Regions from separate parts of the Homo sapiens genome. Here regions 1 and 3 are each linked to region 2. Evidence: promoter capture Hi-C in 16 types of primary human blood cells and fetal thymus (Javierre and others, 2016). All regions are on one chromosome and are shown on one strand. Each heading gives the region's core, a stretch centred on a gene start or on the middle of the fragment in contact. The rest is flanking DNA. Distances are from core to core; before and after follow the strand shown. Region 1 overlaps EDRF1-DT (EDRF1 divergent transcript). Region 2 holds the start of ZRANB1 (zinc finger RANBP2-type containing 1). Region 3 overlaps OAT (ornithine aminotransferase).

Region 1 (3,641 bases), core at 616-3,115, 770 kb before region 2:
AACAGGTGTTGGAGAGGATGTGGAGAAATTGGAACACTTTTACACTGTTGGTGGGACAGTAAACTAGTTCAACCATTGTGGAAGTCAGTGTGGCGATTCCTCAGGGATCTAGAATTAGAAATACCATTTGACCCAGCCATCCCATTACTGGGTGTATACCCAAAAGACTATAAATCATGCTGCTATAAAGACACATGCACACGTATGTTTATTGCGGCACTATTCACAATAGCAAAGTCTTGGAACCAACCCAAATGTCCAACAATGATAGAATGGATTAAGAAAATGTGGCACATATACACCATGGAATACTATGCAGCCATAAAAAATGATGAGTTCATATCCTTTGTAGGGACATGGATGAAATTGGAAATCATCATTCTCAGTAAACTGTCGCAAGGACAAAAAAACAAACACCGCATGTTCTCACTCATAGGTGGGAATTAAACAATGAGAACACATGGACACAGGAAGGGGAACATCACACTCTGGGGACTGTTGTGGGGTGGGGGGAGGGGGGAGGGATAGCATTAGGAGATATACCTAATGCTAAATGACGAGTTAATGTGTGCAGCACACCAGCATGGCACATGTATACATATGTAACTAACCTGCGCATTGTGCACATGTACCCTAAAACTTAAAGTATAAGAATAAATTAAAATAAAATAAAATTTATTCTTTAATATTTTCTTTTCCTATTTTTATTTCTGATTATTATAATATGTAATTTTGTTAAGCTTTTACACACATACATAATTCAGCTTGTGATAATCTTTAAATTCTGTTGTTTTATTGTGTAATTCTATCTTTGTAAGAAAGAAATAGCAGTGATTCTTTTCTCAGGATTCAAATATTTTGCATGCTTCTTGAGAAGTGAGTGCCTAGACACGTGTTGATGATGCTTAGTGGGAAAATGTGCCGGAAATAGCTTGTGAAAAGACAAAGTATGAAACAGAACCAGGAAGTCAGCACAGAAAGAGAGGTTGGGAGCACACAGAGGATAATGGGAGCTCTAAGGGTGACCAGTGACCCTTAGGACTGACTGTGGAGGAAAGCCTGAGTCGGGGCTGGGTCTCCAGCAGCCACACACAGGACCAGGATTACAGTACTGTAATTTAGTTCGTAAAGGAGCATGATCCCTGGGGGCTGGAACAATTGGGCACATGTGGGTTACATAAAATTTATATATGCCTCTTGCTCTAAGGGCTTATTAATTTTTTCTTTTTCCCTAGTCAAACACTTTCACATGCTGCTGGAGCTCATAGTGGTCAGGAAAAATTTTAAAAATAAGTGGGGAAAAAAAACCCACTTTTACATGGTGTAGTGTTTTTTAAAAAGTTATTGTCACTGTTTTTAATATAGGAAGTTGAAATATTTTGTGGGAAAACATGGAGAATAAGACATTACTCTTAGAATTTCAAGTTTTCAGACACGAATTGATTTTCATTTTTATATTGTACCAGTGTCTGCCTGTTTCCTCCATCTCTGTCCTCCTGCCCCAGGGACCCACTTGGGATGTACCCCATCATCCATGGCCTGCTCTGCCTTGTCTGTGTAGTTATCCTGGCTCTTGTAACTACCCATGGCTCTCACGTGTTTACTTGCCTCTTCAGTGCCTGATGCTCTAGCTACTAAGAGTGTTTGTTGAATGAATGAGCAGCATGCTTGTCTGCTGCTCCAGCTACTTGTTCCATAGCTCCACGTTTGCTGGTGCTTTCCTCTGCCTAAAATACCTTTTTCTTCCTCACCTGGCTTCTCTCCTGACACCTCTGCCTCCTTACCCCTCAGGGTTCCTTCCTTTGTTCCAGTCGCTTGTATTGCTTTATCCTGCACTTGTCACATTATAGAAAAATTACCTGTTTGTATCTGCCTCCCTCCCCGACTGTGAGCTCCTCAAAGGCTGGTGTCCCGTCTGATCACTGACACCAGGCACAGCACCCGGACAGAACTGTTTCAGCCCTTAGGCAACGGAGGGAAAATGACTGGGGTTGACAGGCTTTTAAAATGCTCATCAAAATGTTTGAGACATAAAAACAATGTTGTTGGCTCCAAAATATTTTTTTAATCTGCAAAATCAAAGCTAAAAATGTTTAATGAAGTAGCTCCAAAATACTGCAATGTCAATGTCATTAATTATTAAAGTTAGTATTGACATACAGTTTGTTTCATTCTAAAACAATTTGTAGATTAGACTTTCTCAGCAAAAATCCTCCCAGCATGCAGTGATTTCTGAGAAATCCCAGTCATTTGTAAATTCATGTAGTTATTTGTATAGTTTCCAAAACTTTTACAGCAAGACATTCATAAGTAAGGCAAATGTGGTTGGGGCTCCTGCCGAAAGTACGAGTGCCCAGGGTACTCACGGTTCTTCTCTAGCCCCACTGGCAGAGCATGACAAACTTGAAAACCTTCTAAACTCAGGGACCATTTGGGGAATATCCTTTTCAGTTTGCCCTGGGCCCTTCCACAACCTAATGTCTTACCCCTAACCAGCCTCATTTGTTTACTTTCTGGACCTTAGAAGGTTCTGAATTTCTGGCTCCTGATCCTGGACTTTTAGAGCTGAAAGAGAGATTTGAGGTTGTCTGAGCCAATCTCTTTCCTCTTTAGATGAGAGCAATGCAGTCCAGAAAGGAGAATAGGATTGACTTGTTGAACATCATACAAAGTTAGGACTAGTACCCAGGTCTCCTACTTACTTAGCTTTCTAAAAAGTCAAATAGTAGACATAGGCCAGTGGAATTTGAAGTTGTCTCATAATCACCTGAGGAACTTGTTTAGCAAACAGATCCTGCAGCCACCTCCAGAATCTAGTATCTCTGGGGTAGTGCTGATTAGTCTACATTTTTAGTGCAATTGTTAAGTTTCTGACAACCTTGCCCTGTAGACTACACCTTTGGACAGTGGTCTCCAAAGACAGTCCCCTGAGGTGCAGGAAGACTAACTTTTTTTTTTAATATGAAAAGTAAGGGCAAAATTAAGCTTTACTAGTATGTAATATACAGATTGACACAGGTGCTCTTCCTTGGGCCATGGTGAGCTAGTCAAATAAGATTGGGCTATGCTGACAAAACAAATGATCCCTAAGTGTCAGTGGCTTACAACTGGGTTAGCCAGAGAAAGAACAGGACGCAAAGTTAAATTTGAATTTCAGATAAACGGTGAAAAAATTTTTAGGATGAGAATGTCCCAAATATTTAGCATAAGTATGTCCCATCTGATGAAGCAGCTTCAATCTGGAGCATTGCCAGTTGCAGTAGCAGAGAGACAAAAAGAGATTGGTGCATTGCAGACTAGCTACAAAGGCTTTTGGTCAGAAGTGGCAAACATCACTGTCATTCACCTTTTTTTGGCCAAATAAATCACATAGCCAAGCCAAGCATACATGTGGCAGGGGAGACTGGATCCTAAGGAGGAATGTTGGTTATCCGTAACCATTATGCAGTCTACCACAGGCATATATGGTGGCTTGGATAGGCTATTGGGTGCCATTCACAAGGCTAAATTTGGTGAAAAAACAAGGCCTTTTGCAGAATCTTTTCAGAGTTTTGTGATGAGGGATGTCTTAGTCTGTTTTGCATCATGATAACAGAATACCTAAGATTGGGTAATTTATTTTTAAAAAAGGTTGATTTAGT
Region 2 (3,697 bases), core at 321-2,820:
AGAGACATGAACACAATTAATTGTGGGCAATTTAGTACAAAGTTACGACAAGATCACAAATACACAAATTTTTATGTATGCATACTTGAAAGTACAGCTATCGTGCTGAATGAATCAAATGCTAGTGACTTTGCGCATATATATATACACACACACACACACACTCACATTTTTGCATGTGCGTGGAGACACAGTCTCACTATGTTACCCAAGCTGGAGTGCAAGTGCTATTCACAGACCGATCATGGCATACTACAGCCTCAAACTCCTGGTTTCAAGCAAGTGGCTAAGACCACAAACGTGTGTCAGCGCACCCAGCTCTTTTCATATCATTTTTACTACCTTTTCCCATCCCACGCAAAAAATGCAGAATACAGAAACTTACCCACACAAGCATTGAGGAAGAGCCAATCAGTCTTTTTCATCCTGTTTTTAATTTGCTTTAGTTTTTTAAAGTCTACTTCAAGTTCCTCCTTGCTTCCCACAGCACCAGCCAATTCAATCCTCTGAAAATCCATTTTCACTTCAGAGTCCCGCTTCGTAGCAGGAGGTGATCTCCTTTGGCTATTACCACTACTGCAACTTCCCCTCCATCGAGCTCTGTCTTGCTCATTTATTATTGAAGAAGCCTCTTCAGTCTCTGCCAATTCTATTGCTTCAATGTTATTAGGTCTGGGATGATCACAAACAACACATCTTTTAGCCTTGGCCCAGTTTTCATATGTGCAAACAGAGCAAGTCCAGTGCTGTGTCCTAGTGTTCAGTTTATTTCTATCATTGTATTCCTCACAAGGATCAACAGAAAAAGCAACTGGTCTTGAGCCAGATCCTGAGGACTGAGGAGATTCTGTAGGACTCCTGGTCCTACGTTGGGATAAGCACTGGGTACATCTGATTGCTCTTGGCCAGTTCAAATATGTACACATGTGGCATGACCACTTATTTGCATTTTCCATGCTATACGAAGATTTCACCCTTGGTCTTGCACTAGAGTCTGGACATATCAAAGGACTACTTCCTCCTTCGGTGCTGGAAGGATCCCAATCTCTACCAACATCACTTGAACCACTTTTAAATGGATCTTCTGTAATAATTGTTCCACTAGGTCTTTGGGCACGACACATAGTACACTTGATTGCAGATGGCCAGTTTTCATACGTACAATATTCACAAGCCCACTTAATTCCACGTTCTGACATTGTGCACTTCTTGAAGTGAGCTGTGTCAGGCAGGAAGCTATAAATAATTAGGACATGGTTATTAAAATAACTACATTCCACCTCCAAAAATACGCTGCCCAAAAAGCAAGTCCTTCAACCTACAAAATATAAATTTCTCAAAAGATGCATGCAACATTTCGACATTGAATTATCCTAATTTTCTTTTTTAATTTCCATAGAAACACTGGAGATAAATTCTCAAAGAAAAAATCTTAGACCCTGGGATTTAATAAAACTGAACTTTGGAATGCAAAAGAGATAGGCAGGAGATATAACGAGGTTTGATCTAAGAAGGATGAGATTAACGGGAAGCCACTAATAGAAATGTTTAATTTCAGGGAGGCCATCACATCAATTTAGAAAAGTAACCAATAGTTTAAAGAGACAAAGGTAGAGGAAACAACACAAACTAAAAAATAGCTTAAACACATAACCATTCTCAAATTATGAACACAGATTATGATTCATGAATTCAGAAGATCAAGCAACGTCTATTTTATCATTCTCGCTAAGGGAGAAAAGCAACTTAAAATGCTAATTATCCACTGTTCTTAATTAGCACAGGTAGTAAAGAAACATGTTGAGAAGTAATGGCTACAATTAACAAAGTAACATTATGAAATAGGTAGTTCCTTGATAATCTGTAGCCTCAAAATCTAGTTCTATCTGGAGTAAAAAAAAGAAGACTGTACTGGGGAAAATTAAATCTGTGGAAGGTCACTGAAATAACCAGTAGCATAATCATTCCAATATAATTGTGAATGTTCATAATTAAAATATTTTAAATTTTGAATATTTAAAATATACTCAAAATCTAATTCATGGCCGGGGGCAGTAGCTCAAGCCTATAATCCCAGCATTTTGGGAGGCTGAGGCGGGTAGATCACAAGGTCAGGAGTTCAAGACCAGCCTGGCCAAGATGGTAAAGCCCCGTCTCTATAAAAATACAAAAATTAGCCGTGCATGGTGGTAGGTGCCTGTAATCCCAGCTACTCAGGAGGCTGAGGCAGAGAACTGCTTGAACCCGGCAGGCAGAGGTTGCAGTGAGCTAAGATCGCACCACTGCACTCTAGCCTGGGTGACAGAGTGAGACTCCATCCCCTGCCCCCCAAAAAATCCAATTCATATTTAAAAGATATTCACACTACTTAAAAGATTTCTAGGATTCAACAATGGGCTAACACTACACTATAATGAAGAAAGACTTCATAATTTAATGGCAACTAATTCATAAATGAAGCAACTTACATAACAAATTTAATTTTTTTTTTTTTAATGGCTTGAATTTAGACACTGGCCACTTTTCCTAAATACTTTTATCAACTCAGTATCATCCCAACACCTATTTTTCACCCGGAAAGAGAAAGAAATCCTAGGCAGAGTATAGAAGCTTTGCTCTCTCTTTCTCAGGGATTTTTCCTGAACCTAGAGGGTTAAATCTTTTGTTTGTTTGTTTTTTTGTTGTTGTTGTTTTCATTTTTGTTTTTTTGAGATGGAGTCTTGCTATGTTTTGCCCAGGCTGGAATGCAGTGGAGTGGTGCAATCTAAGCTCACTGCAACCTCCACCTCCCAGGTTCAAGCGATTCTCCTGCCTCAGCCTCCCAAGTAGCCGAGATTACAGGTGCATGCCACCATGCCCGGCTAATTTTTGTATTTTTAGTAGAGATAGGGTTTCAGCATCTTGGCCGGGCTTCTCTTGATGAACTCCTGACCTCGTGATCCACCCACCTCGACCTCCCAAAGTGCTAGGATTACAGGCATGAACCACCACGCCTGGCCTAAATCTTTCACTTTTGAAGTATACTGTATTATGTTCCTGCCTGCCAAGTCCATACACCATTTATAGTGTGAACTCTGCTAAGAAGAAAAAAAAATCACTATAAGAAAGTATACTACTTAATAGCTAAAATAAAAACCACACTTACTAAGATTTTAGTTCCCACGCTATAACCTCCACCTTGCACATGATTAGAATAAAAGTACGGTTTGCAAATCAGATCAAAGACAAGATTCCGTCTTCATGCTGGCTCAGAATTCTGACTTCCTCAGGAGATACTGCAAAACGTGATAAGTGGTTCTGTCTGACTGAATAGCTATTCCTGTAAAGGAGACCAAAACTGAATTTCACTTGAAGCCTGCTACTTTAGCTAAAAGATTTTTAAGGCTTTATTTTTATCAATTCTCTATTTTAACCCTACTCACTTATTTTAACAATGGACAACTATATTTAGAATTTTAATTTAACAAAACAATAAAATTGGCTAATCAACTGGGCTGGTCAGCCAAATTAAACATGGATGAGACATTTTTCTATATAACCTTAACCCTGTGCTGTGTACACAGTTCTAATATTACTATTAATTTGGCAGTGCTAAGTTAATTCCTACCTGTATTACTCTATTACTAAAAGGGAAAAGATGATAAAATCCAAAAAAGTAGAAAAAGCAAAATAATTGCTTATATTTAGCTATGAAACC
Region 3 (3,212 bases), core at 642-3,141, 530 kb after region 2:
CGCCTGCCTCTGCCACCCAAAGTGCTGGGATTATAGGCATGAGTCACCGCACCTGGTCAACAATATCTTTTATGCTACAATTTTTCAGGATAAGTTTTGTAGAAACAACCATCCTAGCAGAATAGATTGTTTTGTTTGGGAATCTCATATATGTGTGTGTGTGTGTGTGTGTGTGTGTGTGTGTGTGTGTGTGTATGTATTTATGTATGTATGTATATGTTGGTCTAATTCAACTTGCTGTGAACACTTTAAAGCTATTATAAGTTAACATTTTTTTCCTAGTCTTTTTGCCTTTCACCTTTGTTTATGATAAATTTGACCTACAGAAGTTTTAGATATTTGTGGCTAAATAAAAGATTTTAGGCTGGGCACAGTGGCTCACACCTTTAATTCGAAAACTTTGGGAGGCCGTGGTGGGCGGACTGCTTGAGCCCAGAGGGATGGACAGTTCCTCTGTCTCCTGCCCCATGCCTAGTCTCTGGCAGTCTTCTCTGATTTGGTCTCCCTGCCTCTGGTCTCTGCCCTACAGTTGTAGCTGTCTCATAGCATTGTGCCTGATGGTATCGGACTGTGGTAGGTGCTTAACAAATACTTAGTGTTTAGCAGGTACTCAGTCAACACACAGTGCATTAGCTCTGGAAAGAGTCTTACTCTTATTGATTGGTTGGTTGATTGATTGCCTGATTGACAGGGTATCACTCTGTTGCCCAGGCTGGCCTCAAACTCTTGGGCTCAAGTGATCCTCCCGCCTCAGCCTCCTGAGCAGCTGGGGGCTACAGGCACAAACCACCACACCTGACTCAAGATTCTCACTCTTTTTTTTTCTTTTATAGAGACTATGTTGCCTAGGCTGGTCTTTAACTCCTCGGCTCAAGCGATCCTCCCATCTTGGCCTCCCAAGGTGCTGGAATTACAGATGTGAGCTATCACGCCTGGCCATTTTTTTTTTCTTGAGACTGGGCCTTTCTTTGTCTCCCAGGTTGGAGTACAGTGGCACAATCTCAGCTCACTGCAGCCTCAACTTCCGGGCTCAAGCAATCCTCCCACCTCAGTCTCCTGAGTAGCTGGGACTGCAGATGCATACCACTACACCCAGCTAATTTTTCAATTTTTTTTAGTGATGGAGTCTTGCTCTGTTGCCCAGGCTGGTCTCAAACTCCTGGGCTCACGTGATCCTTTGACCTCAGCCTCCCAAAGTGCTGAGATTATAGGCATAAGCCAAGGATTCTCACTCTTAATGCATTCTCTTTTCTTTGGACAGATCTGTGGTTTTTCTACTTGAAGGACACAATGTTTTCCAAACTAGCACATTTGCAGAGGTTTGCTGTACTTAGTCGCGGAGTTCATTCTTCAGTGGCTTCTGCTACATCTGTTGCAACTAAAAAAACAGTCCAAGGCCCTCCAACCTCTGATGACATTTTTGAAAGGGAATATAAGTATGGTGCACACAACTACCATCCTTTACCTGTAGCCCTGGAGAGAGGAAAAGGTACGTTTCAAATTAATCCGTCTTTTCCCTTTTCTTGAAACCTTTTATAAAAAAAAATTGCTTCCATATTTTCACAATATACATTTTTCTAGATGTGTTTAATGTGTATATTGCAGACATGGTTAATTCTTCTTCTTCTTTTTTTTTTTTTTTTTTTGAGACGGAGTCTCACTCTGTCACCCAGGCTGGAGTACAGTGGCACAATCCCAGCTCACTGCAACCTCTGCCTCCCAGGTTCAAGCGATTCTTCTGCCTCAGCCTCCTGAGTAGCTGGGACTACAGGCGTGCGCCACCACACCCAGCTAATTTTTGTATTTTTAGTAGAGATGGGGTTTCACCATGTTGGCCAGGCTGGTCTCAGACTCCTGACTTTGTGATCCTCCCACCTTGGCCTCCCAAAGTGCTGGGATTACAGGTGTGAGCCACCACGCCTGGCCAGTTAATTCATTTATTGAGTGTCTAGTGCTGCTGTGTTAGGTGCTATGGAGGCTTCAAAGAGGAACCATTGTCTTTGTCATGTAGACCTTACCAAGAGGGAATGCAAGAGAAATAAGGAAAGTACTATCATATTGCTGTCATTTTTTTCTTTTAACTTTTATTTTGGCATAGTTTTAGACTTAAGAAAAGTTGTAACAAATAGTACTGACATTTTCCTTTTATACTTCTCCCAGATTTTCCAAGTGCTAACTTTTTGCTGCTTTGGTCTTAGTGTGTTCACTCCCTTCTCTTCTCCCCCCGCCGCCTGCATATTCTACATTGTTTTCTGAACTGTTTTGAGAGGAAGTTGCAGACATGACATCTCTTCTTCTTTTTTTTTTTTTTTTTTTTTTTTTGAGACGGAATGTCGCTTTGTCACCCAGGCTGGAGTGCAATGGTGGGATCTCGGCTCACTGCAACCTCTACCTCTCGGTTTCAAGTGATTCTCTTGCCTCAGCCTCCCGAGGAGCTGGGACTACAGGCCCACGCCACCACGTCCAGCTAATTTTTGTATTTTTAGTAGAGACAGGGTTTCATCATGTTGGCCGGGCTGGTCTCGAACTCCTGACCTCAGGTGATCCACCCACCTCAGCCTCCCAAAGTGCTGGATTACAGGCGTGAGCCACCGCGCCCCGCCACATGACATCTCTTTACCCATAAATACTTAGTGTGTCTTTCCAAAAACGCAATGACTTTTTGAGATAGGGTCTCATTCTGTTGCCCAGGCTGGAGTTCAGTGGTGTGATCATGGCTCACTGCAGCCTGGAACTCCCGGCTTCAGGTGATTTTCCCACCTCAGCTTCCCAAGTAGCTGGGACTACAGGTGTGCCTTACCATGCCTGGCTTATTTTTTGTAGAGATTAGATTTTGCTATGTTGCCCAGGGTGATCTTGAACTCCTGGTCTCAAGTGATCCTACCACTCAGCCTCCCACAGTGCTGGGATTGCAGGTGTGAGCTACTGTGCCCAGCTGACTTTCTCTTTTATAACCATAGAGTAATTGTAAAAATCAAGAACTTAACACTGGTACAGCACCATTAGTCTAGAGACCTAATCCAGATGTCATTTGTTCTCTTTTATAACAAAAGAAAAACCTCCGATGAGTTGCATTCAGTTGTCATGTTTAGTCTTCTTTAACCCAGAACAGTTCCTCAATCCTTGGTTGTCTTGGTCTTCTTTCCCTTTGTATTAAGTATCTTGTGGGGACAGAGTGTAAAACTCTGTAAATATCCAGTTACTCATGAACT

What was found. Contacts are between HindIII fragments. The CHiCAGO score rates a contact against its expected background, and 5 or more counts as called.
Region 1: a contact is called between a fragment that was not itself captured here and the fragment with the promoter of ZRANB1 in region 2, in 1 of 17 cell types (monocytes). The highest score is 5.5, in monocytes.
Region 3: a fragment that was not itself captured here is called in contact with the fragment with the promoter of ZRANB1 in region 2 in 3 of 17 cell types (total CD4 T cells, naive CD4 T cells and total CD8 T cells); the score reaches 6.3 in total CD4 T cells.

Annotation. Positions count from the first base shown.
Region 1 is chr10:125,711,603-125,715,243 of GRCh38, reverse strand. The region is part of intron 1 of EDRF1-DT (EDRF1 divergent transcript); the gene reads left to right. Among named protein-coding and RNA genes, the nearest start is that of EDRF1-DT, 6.1 kb to the left of the region's middle. The HindIII fragment of the contact is 2,245 bases long and covers 743-2,987 here.
Region 2 is chr10:124,939,996-124,943,692 of GRCh38, reverse strand. ZRANB1 (zinc finger RANBP2-type containing 1) reads right to left here and starts at 1,570. Exons shown (of 9, transcript NM_017580.3): 1 at 386-1,570. The coding sequence starts at 1,199. The HindIII fragment of the contact is 2,790 bases long and covers 1-2,612 here.
Region 3 is chr10:124,410,250-124,413,461 of GRCh38, reverse strand. It overlaps OAT (ornithine aminotransferase), which reads left to right. Exons shown (of 10, transcript NM_000274.4): 2 at 1,262-1,489. The coding sequence starts at 1,291. Among named protein-coding and RNA genes, the nearest start is that of OAT, 7.1 kb to the left of the region's middle. The HindIII fragment of the contact is 4,951 bases long and covers 1-3,212 here.